Regions from separate parts of the Homo sapiens genome. Here all the other regions are linked to region 1. Evidence: promoter capture Hi-C in 16 types of primary human blood cells and fetal thymus (Javierre and others, 2016). All regions are on one chromosome and are shown on one strand. The core of a region is centred on a gene start or on the middle of the fragment in contact, and the rest is flanking DNA. Distances in the headings are between cores, read along the strand shown. Region 1 holds the start of DHRSX (dehydrogenase/reductase X-linked). Region 2 has its middle 15 kb from the start of CSF2RA. Region 3 overlaps P2RY8 (P2Y receptor family member 8). Region 4 holds the start of ASMTL (acetylserotonin O-methyltransferase like). Region 5 overlaps P2RY8 (P2Y receptor family member 8).

Evidence for each region. The method cuts DNA at HindIII sites, captures the fragments that hold promoters and counts their contacts. A CHiCAGO score of 5 or more calls a contact.
Region 2: a fragment that was not itself captured here is called in contact with the fragment with the promoter of DHRSX in region 1 in 8 of 17 cell types (naive CD8 T cells, non-activated CD4 T cells, activated CD4 T cells and 5 more); the score reaches 10.7 in naive CD8 T cells.
Region 3: a contact is called between a fragment that was not itself captured here and the fragment with the promoter of DHRSX in region 1, in 5 of 17 cell types (naive B cells, total B cells, erythroblasts and 2 more). The highest score is 8.7, in naive B cells.
Region 4: the fragment with the promoter of ASMTL here is called in contact with the fragment with the promoter of DHRSX in region 1 in 7 of 17 cell types (total CD8 T cells, naive CD8 T cells, total B cells and 4 more); the score reaches 8.0 in total CD8 T cells.
Region 5: a contact is called between a fragment that was not itself captured here and the fragment with the promoter of DHRSX in region 1, in 3 of 17 cell types (total B cells, fetal thymus and naive B cells). The highest score is 8.0, in total B cells.

What each region holds. Positions count from the first base shown.
Region 1 is chrX:2,499,166-2,502,674 of GRCh38, reverse strand. It overlaps DHRSX (dehydrogenase/reductase X-linked), which reads left to right and starts at 1,699. Exons shown (of 7, transcript NM_145177.3): 1 at 1,699-1,858. The coding sequence starts at 1,750. It overlaps ZBED1 (zinc finger BED-type containing 1), which reads left to right and starts at 1,699. Exons shown (of 2, transcript NM_001171136.2): 1 at 1,699-1,858. The HindIII fragment of the contact is 4,150 bases long and covers 1-3,509 here.
Region 2 is chrX:1,251,856-1,255,550 of GRCh38, reverse strand. No RefSeq gene overlaps it. Among named protein-coding and RNA genes, the nearest start is that of CSF2RA, 15 kb to the left of the region's middle. The HindIII fragment of the contact is 8,598 bases long and covers 1-3,695 here.
Region 3 is chrX:1,476,282-1,480,022 of GRCh38, reverse strand. The region is part of intron 1 of P2RY8 (P2Y receptor family member 8); the gene reads left to right. Among named protein-coding and RNA genes, the nearest start is that of ASMTL, 25 kb to the right of the region's middle. The HindIII fragment of the contact is 4,346 bases long and covers 284-3,741 here.
Region 4 is chrX:1,451,413-1,454,896 of GRCh38, reverse strand. It overlaps ASMTL (acetylserotonin O-methyltransferase like), which reads left to right and starts at 1,988. Exons shown (of 13, transcript NM_004192.4): 1 at 1,988-2,149. The coding sequence starts at 2,057. The HindIII fragment of the contact is 27,509 bases long and covers 1-3,484 here.
Region 5 is chrX:1,493,470-1,496,826 of GRCh38, reverse strand. All of the region lies in intron 1 of P2RY8 (P2Y receptor family member 8), which reads left to right. Among named protein-coding and RNA genes, the nearest start is that of P2RY8, 42 kb to the left of the region's middle. The HindIII fragment of the contact is 650 bases long and covers 1,745-2,394 here.

The DNA of each region.
Region 1 (3,509 bases), core at 450-2,949:
AAGAATTCCAGTAGGAGTCTGCTGGGGGGTCCATGTGGGATTTCAGCCTTGGCCCTGGTAAGGGTCTGGGTGGGGGTTCTGTGCTGGTCTGGGGTTCCCTGAGGGAGCCCAGGTAACTCTGTGGTTGTCTGGGGTTCCCAACCAAGGTCTGAGTAGGGGTCTGCTGTCCCAGTAGGGATCAGGGTGGGGAGGGGGCTCGTGGTCCCTGAAGTAGTCTGGAGTTCTCTGCAGGGGCCGGGAAGGGGGTCTGTGATCCCTGCAGGGTTGTTGGGGGCAGGGAAGTGGAGGGGTAGGTTTGGTGGGTGGTGTCTGTGGCCTGGCAGGAATTGGGGTGGGGTCTGTGGTCTCAGTAGGAACTGGGGTGTGGGGTCCGTGCTTGGGGCAGGTTCTGTGGTGTCAGCAGGAACTGGGGTGTGGGGTCCGTGCTTGGGGCAGGTTCTGTGGTGTCAGTACGAATTAGGGTGTGGGGTCCATGGTCCTTACAGCTGTTCAGAGTCCTCTGTGGGAGTCCTGGTCCATAATCCTGGCATGGCTCTGGGTGGTTGTCTGGGGTTCCCTATGGGGTCCAAGTCCTTGTGGTCCCTGCTGAGGTCTGCGTGGGGTTACATGATTCTGGCTAAGATGGGGAGGGTGGTTCCCGTGGTGGTCCTGGTCCCCTGCAGGGTCTGGGTAGGGGATCTGTGATCCCATGGTGGGGGTCCTGGCTGGGGCTTGAATGGGGTTCCATGGTCTTGGCTGGAGTGTGGGGTCTTGGAGAGGCAGTCCAGCTGGGGTCTGTAGTCCTGGGGGGCGTCCTGGCAGGGGTCTGTGGTCTTGTGGGGTGCTGGCTGGGGCCTGTGGTCCGGGGGGTGGTTGTGATGGAGGTGGAGGTCCTAGAAGGGGGCCCCAGTAGGGGTCTGTGATCCTGGAGAGGGGTCCTGGTGGTGGGGGTCCCAGTGGAGGTCTGTGGTCCTGGGGGGCCCTGGGAGGATCTGTGGTACTGGGGAGTCCTGGTGGAGGTCTGTAGTCCTGGTGGGGTTCTTGGTGGGGTGTCTGGGCGTGCCCCAGTGGGGGGGCCTGTGGTCTTGGGGGTCCCAGCAGGGGTCTGGGGTCCTGGGGGGTGTTCTTGGGAGGAGTCTATGGATCTGACTTGGGTGCTGGCTGGGGTCTGTAGTCCTGGGGGCGTCCTGGCTGGGGCTGTTGGTCTTGTGGTGGTGGGGATCCCTGCTGGGGTCTGCAGTCCTGCCGGGAGGGGGAAGGGTCCCTGCTGGGGTCTGTGGTCCTGGAGGAGGTGTGGAGGGTCCCTGCTGGGGTCTGTGGTCCTGGGGGGGATTCCTGGCTGGGGTCTGTGGTCCTGGCTGGGGGTGTGTGTGGGGGGTCCCTGCTGGGGTCTGTGGTCCTGAAGGGGGGGTCCTGACTGGGGTCAGTGGTCCTGGGGGCGTCCTGGCTGGGGTCTGTGGTCCTGGGGGGGGGGGTCCTGGCTGAAGTCTATGGTCCTTGCAGGGGGGGGTTCCTGGCTGGAGTCTGTGGTCCTGGGGGGGGTGTCCTGGCTGGGGTCGGTTGTCCGCTCGGGGTCCCCAGTCCTGCAGGCGGTGCGGGATCCCAGAGGGCCCGGGCGGGGTCTGGGGTTGGGGGTTCCCCGCAGGCCGGGGCGGTTCGGGGCGGGCAGGGGGCGGTCCGGGGCGCGCGCGTTTCCGCCGTCCGTCCGGGCGGGCGGGCGCAGAGTCCCGCGGGCGGCGCGGAAGCGGCGGCGGCGCGGCCGGGGCAGCCATGTCGCCATTGTCTGCGGCGCGGGCGGCCCTGCGGGTCTACGCGGTAGGCGCCGCGGTGATCCTGGCGCAGCTGCTGCGGCGCTGCCGCGGGGGCTTCCTGGAGCCAGGTCAGCGGGGCGGGGCAGGGGTCAGGGCTCCGGGGACCCGGGTGGGCGCGGGCTGGCTCGGGGGCGGGGGCGCGGGGGCTCCGCGTGACCTTGGCGAGGCGGTGGCGCTCCCGGAAGTGGGGCTGGGCGGGGGTCGAGGTGTGGCCGGGGGTGGGGGGGGGGCGGCGTGCGCGCTGGGACCTCCCCGCCCCGCGCTTTCCGTCCCCGCCGGCTCTTCTGCGCGCCTGGCCCGGCCCGACCCGGCCCGACCCTTCCCTCCCCGCGCGTGTGGCCTCCCCGCCTGTCCCGGGTCGGGCTCCAACCAAGCAGCCCCCGTGCAGCCGCCCCCCCGCGCACCCTGACACCTCCGGGCCATGGCCGGGGACCCGGGGGCTCGCACGCCCCGCGCCCAAGACATCAGGCGGCTCTGCCTGCCGCCTGCGGTCGGCCAGTGACCGCGCGCCCCCGCCAGGCCCCGGAGGGGAGGAGCGGGCGTCCCAGGGACCTCGACCCCTACCCACCCCAGGGTAAGTGAGGATGGGCCCTTCTCCGGAGGACGTCTCCAGAGGGGGCCCAGAGGCGGCTTCTCGGGCACTGGGGAGCCACGGAGGTCTGGTGGGGAGGGCAGGCCCGTTAAGTGGCAACTTTGTTTCCTTGGCCTTTGTAAACATCTCTGAGTCACAGATCTCCAACTTTGCAGGACTCGTTCACTGTCTGAACTCATCAGTGATGACCGCCACTGTGTTTTGTGTATGCAGATAACTTCTGTTCCTAGATTTGCAGGTTCAGAATTTATTATTATTATTATTTTTTGTAATAGGAAGTAGAGATGAAGTCTTGCTCTGTTGCCGAGGCTACTCTCGAACTCCTGGGCTCAAGCAGTCCTCCTGCCTCAGCCTCCCAAAGTGCTGGCATTACAGGCACCAGCTACTGCATCCGACTAATGTTTTAAAGTTTTGTAGACGGGGTCTTGCTATGTTGCTCAGGCTGGTCTCGAACTCCTGGGCTCAAGCGATCTTCCTTCCTTTGCCTCCCAAACTGTTGGGATTACAGGTGTGAGCCACCACACCTGTCTAATGTTTTAATTTTTTTGTGTAGCAATAGGGTCTTGCTACGTTGCCCAGGCTGGTCTGAAACTCATGGGCCGAAGCAATCCTCCTACCTGGGTCCCCCAAAGTGCTGGGTTTACAGGCGTGAGCCACCACGCCTGGCTAATGTTTTAAATTTTTTGTAGAGATGGCATCTCACCATGTTGCCCAGGCTGGTCTTGAACCCCTGGCCTGCAGCAATCCTCCAGTCTGGGCCTCCCAAACTGCTGGGATTACAGACAGAGCGCCACTGTGCCCAGCCCATATTCTCAATTTAAACCTAGAAACCTGTAAACAATTATTTGTGAACTGGAATAAAGGGAATGTTAATTCCATGTTAGGTTAAATGATACTTTGTTTCAAAAATAACAGTTTTCCAAAACAGAGCGTTCAGAGGGTCAGTGTGGTGGGGGTGGGGGTGTACGTTGCCCTGAATGTCTTAAATGTCCAGCCTAAGAAGAGAGCTGTTATTTCTGCCTCTGTAGACAGTTTCATGGCATGTCAGGAGGCCTCTGGAAGACACTACTGCACGCCTCTGGGAGACTGGGAGTCAGCCAGGCGAAGCGCTTGGGTGCCTTATTGTG
Region 2 (3,695 bases), core at 990-3,489, 1.2 Mb after region 1:
GTGAGCTGAGACCGCGCCACTGCACTCCAGCCTGGGCAACAAGAGGGAGGGAGACTCCATCTTAAAAAAAAAAAAAACAATAATACAAATACAAATACAAAAATTAGCCAGGTGTGGTGGTGCGTGCCTGTAATCCCAGCTACTCAGGAGGCTGAGGCAGGAGAATCGCTTGAACCCTGGAGGTGGAGGTGGCAGTGAGCTGCAATTGTGCCATTGTACTCCAGCCTGGGCTACAAGAGTGAAGCTCTGTCTCAATAATAATAAGAAGAAGAAATAAGAAAAAAAAGAAATTAACACAGTTGCATTTTTCCACGTTTTTCTTGATTGTTTCAGATGGGAGGGTAAAGTGCATTTCCATGATTCCATCTTGGCTGAACGTAGACTTCTCTGTCCCTACTTTTATCACCATCCCACAGCCCACCATGGACATGCAGCTGTAATCCCTGTAATCCCACCTACTCAGGAGGCTGAGGCAGGTGAATCGCTTGAACCCTGGAGGTGGAGGTTGCGATCAGCCGAGATCTTGCCACTGCACTCCAACCCGGCAACAGAGCAAGATTCCCTCTTTAAAAAAAAAAAATTGAGATGGTGATAGAGTTTGTATGTTTGTACCCTCCAAATATCATGTTGAAATGGGATCCCCAATGTTGGGGGGTGGGGTCTGGTGGTAGGTGTTTGGATCATGGGGTGAATCCCTAGTAAATAGCTTGGTGCAGTCCCCAAGGTAATGAGACAGTAAATGAGCTCTCCTCTGTGAATTCGTGTGAGAGTTTGTTCTTTTACCATCCTGGCTAACATGGTGAAACCCCATCTCTACTAAAAATACACAAAATTAGCCGGGCGTGGTGGTGGGCACCTGTAGTCCCAGCTACTTGGGAGGCTGAGGCAGGAAAATGGCATGAACCCGGGAGGTGGAGGTTGCAGTGAGCCGAGATTGCGCCACTGCACTGCAGCCTGGTGACAGAGTGAGACTGTCTCAAAAAAAGAAAAAAGCCAGGCGCAGTGGCTCACGCCTGTAATCCCAGCACTTTGGGAGGCCGAGGTGGGCGGATCACGAGGTCAGGAGATTGAGACCATCCTGGCTAACATGGTGAAACCCCGTCTGTACCAAAAATACAAAAAAAAAATTAGCCAGACGCTGTGGCAGGCGCCTGTAGTCCCAGCTACTCAGTAGGCTGAGGCAGGAGAATCGCTTGAACCTGGGAGGCGGAGGTTGCAGTGAGCCAAGATCGCGCCACTGCACTCCAGCCTGGGCAACAGAGTGAGACTCCGTCTCAAAAAAATAAAAAAGACCCTGGCTTCTCTCTCGCTTCCTTTCTCACCATGTAATTCCTTCTACCCCTTTGCCTTGCACCATGACTGGAAACCCTCCGCCTCCAGTTCTCAGTTCTCCACTTTCCTCGTATGTCACCTTCAGATGACATTGAGCATTTGTTTATTTATACTTCCCTGCCTTTCCAGAAACAATGGTCCTGTGAATCTTTAACCTCCAGTACTAAGGCCAGAACGTGGCCCTGAGGAATGTGTTCAAAGGACTGAGCTCTGAGATTCATCCCAGCACCTGTAAGCGGCTTCCTGTAGGTGCCTGTCCTGGTCTGTGAACCTGGGGATGGTGATATCTTTTGCTTGATGGACACATGGCCCAGAGAATGTCACTGCTTTTACAGACATAGCCTTGTCTGTGCCATCTGCTTGTTCCTTGCTGGGAAGCCCCAGTTCTTTGCCTTCTGCCATGACTGGAAACCCTCCGCCTCCAGTTCTCCGTTCTCTGCTTCCCTCATACGTCACCTTCAGATGATATTGAGCATTTGTTTATTTATACTTCCCTGCCTTTCCAGAAACAATGGTCCCGTGAATCTTTAACCTCCAGTACTAAGGCCAGAACGTGGCCTGGAGGGATGTGTTCAAAGGACCGAGCTCTGAGATTCATCCCAGCACCTGTAAGCGGCTTCCTGTAGGTGCCTGTCCTGGTCTGTGAACATGGGGATGGTGATATCTTTTGCTTGATGGACACATGGCCCAGAGAATGTCACTGCTTTTACAGACATGGCCTTGTCTGTGCCATCTGCTTGTTCCTTGCTGGGAAGCCCCAGTTCTTTGCCTTCTGCCATGACTGGAAACCCTCCGCCTCCAGTTCTCAGTTCTCCGCTTCCCTCGTACGTCACCTTCAGATGACATTGAGCATTTGTTTATTTATACTTCCCTGCCTTTCCAGAAACAATGGTCCCGTGAATCTTTAACCTCCAGTACTAACGCCAGAACGTGGCCCGGAGGGATGTGTTCAAAGGACCGAGCTCTGAGATACATCCCAGCACCTGTAAGCGGCTTCCTGTAGGTGCCTGTCCTGGTCTGTGAACCTGGGGATGGTGATATCTTTTGCTTGATGGACACATGGCCCAGAGAATGTCACTGTTTGAACAGACATAGCCTTGTCTGTGCCATCTCCTTGTTCCTTGCTGGGAAGCCCCAGTTCTCTCTTTAGAATGAGGGATGTGGGCCAGGCAGGGACTTTCTGACCTGAGTTTCCTCTTAGCTGAAAACTGTGGTTCCTGGTCTCCTTCACCTCCCTTTTCTCAGGGGCAGGGATGGGTACCAGGAGGGGGGGTGGTATGAGGTAAAGCTCAGAGACAGACTTTAGATGGTGGGTTGGGCGAGGTGGCTCACACCTATAATCCCAGCACTTTGGGAGGCCGAACAGGGGCATTTAATAAATCTACACATGGGCCGTGCGCAGTGGCTCACACCTGTAATCCCAGCAGTCTGGGAGGCCGAGGCAGGCAGATCACTTGAGGTCAGGAGTTCGAGAGCAGCCTGGTCATCATGGTGAAACCCCATCTCTAACAAAAATACAAAAAAAATAGCTGGGTGTGGTGGCAGTTGGCTGTAATCCCAGCTACTCGGGAGGCTGAGGCAGGAGAATCGATTGAACCTGGGAGGTGGCCGTTGCAGTGAGCTGAGATCATGCCATTGCACTCCAGCCTGGGCAACAAGAGTGAAATTCTATCTCAAAAAATAAATAAAATAAAATAAAAATAATAAATTCACAAGTCGTGATTTTCCTGGAAAATGTTGATGCTGTTGGGAAGGAGAGAAGTCTGAGGACTCAGATAAGCCTGTTCTGCCTCTGAAGCAGCTCGGCGTTGTAATAAGTAAAGGCACCAGTGGGAAAAGTCTCAGGGTGTTGTCTGCTGAAGCAGACTCAATGAGTTTTCCTGTGTGGGGTGGTGGGAAGGTTGGCAGGTAGACCACAAGGCAAATTAAGATAAGCTGGTGACTCCGGCCTTTGGAACAAAGAAATGGAAAACTACAGCCCCAGGCCGGGAGTGGTGGCTCAAGCCTGTAATCCCAGCACTTTGTTTATCATTATTATTTTGAGAGGGAGTCTTCCTCTGTCACCAGGCCTGAGTGCAGGTGGCGCGACCTCTGCTCACTGCAATCTCTGCCTCCCGGGTTCACGCCATTCTCTTGCCTCAGCCTCCTGAGTAGCTGGGATTACTGGCGTGCATCACCATGCCTGGCCAATTTTTGTATTTTTAGTAGAGACGGGGTTTCACCATGTTGGCCAGGATGGTCTCGAACTCCTGACCTCGTGATCCACCCGCCTCGGCCTCCCAAAATGCTGGGACTACAGGCGTGATCCACCACACCCGGCATCTATCTATGTGTCTGTCTATCTATCTATCTATCTATCTATC
Region 3 (3,741 bases), core at 1,207-3,706, 1.0 Mb after region 1:
GGCCTGGAGCCTTTTGTTTGGGAAGGTTATTAAATTATCGATTCAATTTCTTTAAGAGATATAGGCTCACTCAGATTGGCTGTTTCTTCTTGTGTGAGTTGTCAGATTTTATCCTTTTGTTCTTTTCATCTAGGTGATCAATTTTATGGGCACAGAATTGTTTATAATATTTCTTTATGATCTTTTTAATGTCCATGGGATCTGTAGTGATGTCTCCTCTTTCATTTACAGTATTAGTAACTTGTGTCCTCATTCTTTGTTGTTGTTAGCCTGACTAGAAGCTTATTACTCTCATTGATTGTTATTTCAAAGAACAAGCCTATGGTTTTGATTTTTGTCTATTGACTTGCTGTTTTCAATTGCACTGATTTCTGTCCTCTATGGATTTCCTATTTTCAAATCCACTGATTTCTCCTCTAATCTAATATTTATGATTTATTTCTTTCTTCTTCCATTAGATTTAATTTGCTCTTCTTTTTCTAGTTTCTCGAGGTGGAAACTTAAATTATTGATTTTAGATCTTACTTCCTTTCTAATACATGCATTCCATTTAAAATATGCAAACCCTTCAAATCAGCAGATCTTCTCCTAGAAATCGATCCTAGAAAATGTTCTCACAGGTATGCATAAAAATACTTACAGAGGAGTGTGTGTAAGCACACAGGCTGAAGCAGAGTTGATCCATCCAAATCCCCTCACTGTGGGGCATATGGTTAGAGACACCACAAGACATTCACAAAAGTGGTGACGGGTGTATGTCCTACTATGCAAAATAAAACTTACCTGTGTATGAAAGGAGGCTCCAGAGCAAACGAACTCCCAGAGGTTACTTCTGAAGGGAAGTGGGACCTGGAGGGGAAAGATCCAAAGACAAACACGAATACAGAGCTCTCTATTTCTCTTTATTCTTTTACTCATAACAAGTGTGTGTGTGTGTTCTGTAATTGGAAGATCTAAAAATTAAACCAAAGTTGAAAACTCAATGGTGTCTGGAAGTTCAGAAGAGGTTGCATCTGCTTCTGTGGCTGAGGGGACTTGGAATGTGGGAACCTGGAAGTGGTGGTATCAACCCCGGTTTTATTAGGATAAGTTGCAGTTCAGTGGGGAGGGACCACCAGAAAGGCAGACAGCAGGGGGCAGGAGGCTTCTGGTATATTCCATGATAGTCTTTGCACCATGAGCCCACCACCTAGCTTCTCTGTTTTCCCAGCCCCTGCTATCTATGTTCACATAAAAAGATACCTGTACCGGGAGCAGTGGCTCACACCTGCAATCCCAGCACTTTGGGAGGCCGAGGTGGGTGGATCATAAGGTCAGGAGTTCGAGACCAGCCTGGCCAACATGCTGGAACCCCCATCTCTACTAAAAATACAAAAATTAGCCAAGCATGGTGGCAGGCGCCTGTAGTCCCAGATATTCAGGAGGCTGAGGCAAGAGAATCGCTTGAACCCGGGAGGCGGAGGTTGCAGTGAGCCGAGATCGTGCCACTTCACTCCAGCCTGGACAACAGAGCGAGACTCTGTCTCAAAAAAATAAATAAATAAATAAAAGATACCTGTGCCACTTCAGCTTCCCATATTGAAAACCACCAACTCTCTTCCTACTTCCTCCCTCCCAAAAGGACCTGTCTGTCACCCTACAACCTCTCTGCAATCTCTTATCTACAGTCTGCCTTCTGCAATCTCTCTAGTTTATATGATCCCTGTTTGCAAAAGATATGTTGGTAATAATTTCTGCTTCCCTGCTGGGCACACACACACACACACACACACATACGCCTGCCAGCACCATTTTTCATTTTAAAAGCATTGGTGTCCATCATACAGAGAAATGCTTAGGATTGGAAACAGGAGATACCAATGGAAGGTTCCACATGAGTCAAGAACTTCTCTTTGTTATTGCTTCTGGCCACAGCTCTGACGTCTGACCCCACCCCAGCTCAGGGGCCCAAGAGATGCTTTAGCTCATGTTCCATCTGTCTTCCTGAAGACCAGGTCTCCTCCTCTGTGATGGGGTGGGAGGTCCGTGACGGCAAGGCAATGAGGGGCACGTGCAGGCATTTTAAGGAATCGCTCTTCATCCACAGCTGGTCACTAACCATGATGAGACCACTGTCCCTTTCCACGACACCAGCTTCTTGCTAGGAACATCTGCCTGGGGTCTTTTCTCTCCCCGAAAGCCTCTTGCAGACATTCTTTGGAAAGTACTCCTGAGCTCTGTGTGTTTGTTGAAGGCTGCTCTTGTCACACAGTTGCTTGAGGGCAGGTTTCTCAGCCTTAGCACTGCTGACATTTCAGCCCAGATGATCCTCTGTGGTGGGGCCATCCTGTGTACTGTAGGGTGTTGAGCAGTGTCCCTGGGATCTACCCACCAGATGCCAGACGCATCTTCCCAATTATGATACCTGAATCATTCACATTTGCAAACTATTGAATGGATAAATAATTGATGCATAGATAAATAATTGATAGATTGATGAACACGTATATGTGATTGTTAGATAACTGATTCACAGATGATAGATGTAATTAATAGATAACTGATTGGTAGGTAATTGATATGAATAGATGAAAGATCCATAGAAAGATGATTGATTCATAATTGATAGATATGATTGCTAGATAGATAAGTAATTGATAGAGAGAAAATTGATAGGTAGATAGATGATCGATTGATAGATAATTGATATAGATAGATGATAGATCAAGGGTTGCAAGACGATTGATATAGATAGATGATAGATGATAGATGGATGACAGGGGTTAGATCAACAAATGGATTCATGGATAGACAGATGGTGAATTTCTTCTTCTTCTTCTTCTTTTTTTTTTTTTGAGATGCAGTCTTGCTCTGTCGCCCAGGCTGGGGTGCAATGGCACAATCTCAGCTCACTGCAACCTCCGCCTCCCAGGTCCAAGTGCTTCTCCTGCCTCAGCCTCCCAAGTAGCTGGGATTAGAGGCACCCGCCACCACACCTGGCTAGTTTTTGTATTTTGAGTAGAGACGGGGCTTCACCGTGTTGGCCAAGCTGGTCTCAAACTCCTGACCTCAGGTGATCCACCCACCTCGGCCTCCCAAAGTGCTGAGATTACAGGTGTGAGCCACTGCTCCAGGCTGACGGTGAAGTTCTTATGCTCATGCCAGGTTGTCAACCTCAGCACTGTAGATATTTGAGGCTGGATGCTTCTCTGTGGTGGGGACCCTCCTGTGCATGGTAGGGTGTTGAGCACCATCCCTGGGCTCCACCCACCAGATCCCAGTAGCATCCTTCCTTAAGTTGTGGCAACCAGGGATGTTTCCTACATTTCCAACTATTCTTGAGGGTAGGGGAAGCCTTCTAGGTGACCCTTGTTCTTCTAGACCTGGCATCAGCCACCCTTGGCTACCTCTCAAACATCTATATGACCCATTATATTTCTTTTTTTTTTTTCTTTTTGAGGCAGAGTCTCACTTTGTCACCCAGGCTGGAGTGCAGTGGTGCCATCTAGGCTTACTGCAAGCTCTGCCTCCGGGGTTCATGCCATTCTCCTGCCTCAGCCTCCCGAGTAGCTGGGACTACAGGCACCCGCCACCACGCCCGGCTAATTTTTTTTTTCTTTTTTGTATTTTTAGTAGAGAAGGGGTTTCACCGTGTTAGCCAGGATGGTCTCCATCTCCTGACCTCATGATCTGCCCACCTCAGCCTCCCAAAGTGCTGGGATTACAGACATGAGCCACCGTGCCCAGCCGACCCATTATATT
Region 4 (3,484 bases), core at 739-3,238, 1.0 Mb after region 1:
CAGAAAAGAAAGAAACAAACAAACAAAAACCTTCACCTGCATGGAGTTTATGTTATATGCAGTACAGTTTATAAACTTATGATTCCTTCTATCGCTTCAAAACGAAGAAAGTTACTTCTCCAAAATTCTGAAATGTGAATCTATGTGCTTTTTAAAATTTTTTTTCAAAAACTCACAATATTGAAAATCAGACATCACATGGTTTAGATGCTTTTTTCCTCTCTTTTATTTGGCTCTTCTGTGACTTCTCTGACTACAGTTTTTCGTTTTCTCCGTAATGTGTTGGACACCCTCGGATGTCATTCCACAGTTAACAAAATTAACTGTAGGATTCCATTTTCTGCATCTACACATCACTGGCATAGGCTCTGGGTATATTATTATTTTTGACATTTTATTTTAAAATCTTTTGAGTCACAAAGGCTGGGGAAACAGTGCCCGGAGTCTCCACGCCACGCTGGGTTTATGTGGAGCAGGTGCGGCTGGGCTCTGGGGTTTAAGAAAAATCCTCGCACAGCTCACGCGCGCCCCCTGCAGCCTGCGGCGCGCAAGGGACCCGCTGCCCTGGAGGTGGGCTCCGTTTAGGGAGGGAAGGCACAGCCGGGCGTCCCCCACCTCACAGCGCCCGCCCTGGTCCCATCCCTGCGCCCCCAGCACCGCGCCCCCAGGGGGTCCCCACGCCGCGCCCATCACCACGCCCGCGCGGATCCCCAGTGTCCACGCCCCTCCCACAAGGACCCCCACCTTCTCCACGCCCCTCCCACCAGGCACGCGGGGACCCCCCCCCCACCCATCTCCCCGCCCTTCCCACCCGGCCCGCGGGGACCCCCATATCCATACCCCTCCGAGCATTCTCGCGGGGACCCTCATCTCCAAACCCCTCCCACCATCCCCGCGGGGATCCCCATCTCCACGCCCCTCCCACCAGGCCCGTGGACACCCCCATCTCCACGCCCCTCCCACCAGGCCCGTGGACACCCCCATCTCCACGCCCCTCCCACCAGGCCCGTGGACACCCCCATCTCCACGCCCCTCCCACCAGGCCCGTGGACACCCCCATCTCCACGCCCCTCCCACCAGGCCCGTGGACACCCCCATCTCCACGCCCCTCCCACCAGGCCCGTGGACACCCCCATCTCCACTCCCCTCCCACCAGGCACGAGGACATCCCCATCCCCACGCCACTCGCACCGGGTCCGCGGGGAACCCCCTATCTCTACCTTCCCCGACGCGGCTCCCACAAGACCCCCATCTCTGCGCCGGGCCCCTCCACGTGCGGGTAAGAACCCCCCACCCCCACAACTGCCCACAACCGCAGCTGCGGAAACCCAGCATTTCCACTCCCCACGCCGCGCCTGCAAGGAACCCCAAGTATCCACGCCAGCCTTTCCTCCCCGGGACCCCGCAGCTGCCTGCGCCATTGCAGGTCTTGGCGCCGCAGGCGGGGTGGGGAGGGGCGGGGCGAGCGCCGGGGGCGGGGACGGGGCCCGGGAGGCGGAGCTGGGGGCGGTGCTTCACCAAGCGGCCGGGGCGGTGCCCGGGGGGGAGGCGGGCGGGGGTGTGGCCTGGGCGTGGCCTCACGGGGAGCTCAATGGCGGCGTGGCATGGGCGTGGCCTGGCGGAGAGGGCAAGGAGGTGTGGCCTGGGCGTGGCCTGGCGGAGCGGTCAATGGCGGCGTGACATGGGCGTGGCCTGGCGGAGAGGGCAATGGAGGTGTGGCCTGGGCGTGGCCTGACGGAGAGGGCAATGGAGGCGTGGTCTGGGCGTGGTCTCAGGGGAGATCAATGGGGCGTGACATGGGCGTGGCCTGGTGGAGAGGGCAATGGAGGTGTGGCCTGGGCGAGGCCTGACGGAGTGTTCAATGGAGGCGTGGCCTGGGCGCGGTCTCGCGGGGAGGCCACTGAAGGCGCGGACTGGGCGTGGCCTCGCGGAGGCGGGCGGGGGCGTGGCCTCGCGGAGGCGGGACTCTGGCCGCCTGTTTTTTTTGCAGCCGCGCTGCGCGCACCGCGGGCTCCGGGCTCAGAAGTGCGGACGCCCGGCTCCCGGCGTGGACGCCATGGTGCTGTGCCCGGTGATTGGGAAGCTGCTGCACAAGCGCGTGGTGCTGGCCAGCGCCTCCCCACGCCGTCAGGAGATCCTCAGCAACGCGGTACGGCCTGGGCCTGGGCGGGGCAGGGGACCGGGGACGGAGGGGCTGAACCCCGGAGGGCCCAGCGACTCAGGAACTCTAGGGATAGGGATGGGAGAGTGACCCGAGACCCTTAGGGATGGGGGAGGGGAGAGTGTCCCGGGACCTCCAGGGATAGGGTTGGGGAGAGTGACCCGGAACCTCTAGGGATGGGGGAGGGGAGAGTAACCCGGAACCCCCTAGGCATGGGGGTGGGGAGTGACCTGGGTCCCCATAGGGATGGGGGAGGGGATCGTAACCCGGGACCCCTAGGAATGGGGAGGGTAGAGTGACCCAGGACCGCTAGGGATGGGGACAGCAGAGTGACCCCGGAGCCCCATGGATGGGGATGAGGAGAGTAACCCGGGACCCCCAGGCATGGGGATGGGGAGAGTAACCCGGGACCTCCAGGGTTGGGGATGGGGAGAGTAAGCCGAGACCCCCCCTAGGGATGGGGGTGGGGGAGTAACCCGGGACCCCTAGGGATGGGGGAGAGGAGAGTAACCCGGGACCCCCAGGCATGGGGATGGGGAGAGTAAGCCGAGACCCCCAGGAATGGGGTTGGGGAGAATAACCCGGGACCCCTAGGGATGGGGTTGGGGAGAGTGACCCAGGACCCCCTAGGGATGGGGGAGGGGAGAGTAACCCGGGACCCCCCTAGGGGTGGGGGAGGGGAGAGAAACCCGGGACACCTTAGGGATGGGGTTGGAGAGAGTAACCTGTAACCTGGGACCCCCTAGCGATGGGGGTGGGGAGAGTAACCCAGGACGCCCTAGGCATGTGGTTGGGGAGAGTGACCCGGGACCCCCTAGGGATGGGGAGGGAGGAGTGACCCAGGACCGCTAGGGATGGGGACAGCAGAGTGACCCCGGAGCCCCATGGATGGGGATGGGGAGAGTAACCCGGGACCCCCAGGCATGGGGATGGGGAGAGTAACCCGGGACCTCCAGGGTTGGGGATAGGGAGAGTAAGCCGAGACCCCCCTAGGGATGGGGGTGGGGAGAGTAACCCGGGACCCCTAGGGATGGGGGAGAGGAGAGTAACCCGGGACCCCTAGGAATGGGGAGGTCAAGTGACCCGGGACCCCCCTAGGGATGGGGGTGGGGAGAGTGACCCGAAACCCCTAGGCATGGGGTTGCAGGGAGTGACCCAGAACCCCCTAGGAATGGGGATGGGAGAGTAACCTGGGACCCCCTAGGGATGGGGGAGGGGAGAGTAAGCCGGGATCCCCCTAGGGATGGGGGTAGGGAGAGTAACCCGGGACCCAAAAGGATGAGGGAGGGGAGAGTGACCTGGAACCCCTAGGCATGGGGTTGG
Region 5 (3,357 bases), core at 820-3,319, 1.0 Mb after region 1:
ACTCGGGAGCCTGAGGCAGGAGAATTGCTTGAACCAGGGAGGCGGAGGTTGCAGGGAGCCGACATCGCGCTACTGCACTCCAACCTGGGAGACAGAGTGAGACTCCATCTCACAAAAAAGAAAGAAAGAAAGAAAAAAAACTCCCAGGAAGCAGTGTTGAATATCTTCCCAAGTCCTAGTTACCTACAAATGACTGCTCCGTCTGAAGCCGCGGCTGACTGAATGTTTTAAGGGGACACCACCTTCCTTCCCAGCCTGTTCCCTCCAGGAAAATAGTAGAGGACAGAGGCTCCAAGAAGTAGATTTGGGAACTGCAGACAAGTTGCTTCCTGTGAACTGAGCGGAGAGAGAGAGAAACCCTCTGAGAGGGCAGAGGGCAGGATCCCAGGGAGTCGCACCCGGGAGGGCTGTGGCTGTGGCTGTGAGCCTTCTCATGTGGCTCCCCAACGCCAAGGCAGGCAGCCACTGAACAATTGTGAATAACCATTTCCCACCCTGTAACGTGCTGTCTCTACTGAGAAGCTGGCGGGGGAGCATGACTCCAGATGGCCTCGAGATGGTCTTTGGGATTCAACAGCAGGGAGAAGCCAGTGGTACCCAAGTTGACGTCCATTCAGCCTAGGTCTCAGCAGCATCCCAAGTTCACTTCCATTCAGCCTAGGTTTCGGCAGCATCTCTGACGTCTGCCTTCTCCCAACTGCTTCAGAGTGGATGGGTAGTCAGCTCGGCCGCCGTAATAAAACACTGCAAACTGGGTGGACTGTAAACAACAGACATTGTTTCTCCCACAGTCCTGGAGGCTGGAGGTCTGAGATCCAGGTGTGGGCAGGGCTGGTTCCTCCTGAGGCCTCTCTTGTGGACTTAGAGACATCGACTTCTCCCTGTGTCCTCACAGGGTCATCTCTCTGTGTGTGTCTGTGTCCTCATCTCCTCTTCTTATGAGGTGTCTTAGTCCATCTCAGGCTGCTGTCACAGAATACCGTAGACTGGGGGGCTTATACACAACAGACATTGATTCTCCCACAGTCCTGGAGGGTGGAGGTCTGAGATCCAGGTATGGGCAGGGCTGGTTCCTCCTGAGGCCTCTCTCCTGGGCTTGGAGACGCCGTCTTCTCCCTGTGTCCTCACAGGGTCATCTCTCTGTATGTGTCTGTGTCCTCATCTCCTCTTCTTATGAGGTGTCTTTGTCCATTTCGAACGACTATCCCAGAATACCATAGACTGGGCAGCTTAGAAACAACAAACATTGATTCTCCCACAGTCCTGGAGGCTGGAGGTCTGAGATCCAGGTATGGGCAGGGCTGGTTCCTCCTGAGGCCTCTCTCCTGGGCTTGGAGATGCCGTCTTCTCCCTGTGTCCTCACAGTGTCGTCCCTCTGTGTGTGTCTGTGTCCTCATCTCCTCTTCTTATGAGGACACCGGTCCTATTGGATCAGGGCCCACTCCTGGTGACCTCATTTTACTGTAGTTAACTCTTTAAAGAGGTAACCTCCAAATACAGCCACATTGTGTGGTCCTAGGGGTTAGGACTTTAACGTATGAATTTGGGAGGGTACAATGCAGCCTGTAACAGACACAACACTCAGAAAATATATACTGAGCTCGCTGTTTGTAATAAAGGGCTCTCCCTTTAATTTTTAAGACAGGGTCCTGCTCTGTCACCCAGGCTGGAGTGCAGTGGTGTGAGTTCAATTCAGTTCCGAACAGTGAGTACAGTGCAGTTCAGCTCACTGCAGCCTCAAGCTTCCAAATAAAAAACTGTCTTAGCATCATCCAATGAGTACTGACTACTTTTAAATAGTGAATACGCAGCCGGGCGCAGTGGCTCATGCCCGTAATCCCAGCACTTTGGGAGGCCGAGGCGGGTGGATCACCTGAGGTCAGGAGTTCAAGACCAGCCTGACCAACATGATGAAACCCTGTCTCTACTAAAAAAAAAATACAAAAAAAAAAAAAAATTAGCCAGGTGTGGTGATGTATGCCTGTCTTCCCAGCTACTTGGGAGGCTGAGGCAGAATCATTTGAACCTGGGAGGAGGAAGTGACAGTGAGCGGAGACGGTGCCATTGCACTCCAGGTTGGGAGGCAGAGCGAGACTCAGTCTCAAAAGAAAACAAATAGTGACTATGGACATACATATTTTTAAAAATTAGTATTTTCACATAAAGCATAAAGTAATATCCAATATATCCAAGAGAAGCTGTCCTTAAGTTTAACCCATTTTCTAATCCTAAACTAACCCTTCTGAGGCAATGGTCCCGCATACATGGAGGCCAAACTCATTTTTTTTTTTTAAAGCCTAATTGAAAAATACCGCATTAGGAGAAAAACACATAAAATCCCCCTCGGATTACCTGACCTCGCTCCCTGGGGCCCAGGGCCAAAAAGAGGAAGCTTTTCCATCTATTGTTGCTCTGGCCAGTTTCATAACCGCCATGCACCAAGCTCAGTCTGCAGATGACAGATCGCAGCTAAGAGCAGCTTGCTGGGTCTCCGGAGGCTGCTGGTGTCTGTCTCAAGGTGCGGTGCAGGCACAGCCAGTGGGATTTTTTTCCCAGCAGAGCAGAGAGCTGGCCCTCCACTCCTGCTCCTGTGCGGAGCTCACTCCCATAGGGCAGCCGCCTCTGGCCCAGGAGGAGGGTCCCCCAGGACCCCCTGCCTAGCTTGACGGCTGCTCAGACAAGCACCACCAGACCAGCATCACCCAGGACGTCTGCCCTCCCTGCAGCCACCGTTGTAAGTCACGGGGACCTGGGAGTGTTCGGGTAGGAGAGGCTGCTCTGCAGAAATACCCCAGCTAGCAGGGCATATCCAGGCCAGAGACGCTGCTGAATGCCAGAGAAAGCCCTCAGCTCAGCCTCCCTTTGGGGTGTGTGATTTTTAACCCGGGCTCACCAGAGTGCTGCAAAAGGACACACAGCCTCCAGGCAGGAGCTGTGCCATTTGCACAAGCTCTCGAGGGTCGCAGAGAGGGCTGAGGTTGGCCTAAAACAGACCCCCTTCTTGCACATCTTCAGACGTTGCCGCAAGAAAAGAGCAAAATCGTCTTGTCCGTTTTAACGGAGATTCCCAGTTTGCAAGCCAATTGTTCCTTTGACGAGGGGTACAGGCCGGCCCACGCCGAGATGCTGGGTTGGGTGGCTCTCGGATGAAGAAAGTCCCACCTTCTTTAAAATGCGCTCTCCCAGAAATCTTCTTCACACCTGTCTTTGGCTTTTATTTTGCTTTTGTTTTGTGGGGAGGAGACGTTGTTCTTGGTTTTTCGCTAATAAAAATAGTTCACGTCGACTGAGTGAGGAGGAAGCAGCAGCCACTTTTACAAGGGCTTTATCTCTGCGATCTTTCCTTCCTTCCCTCCC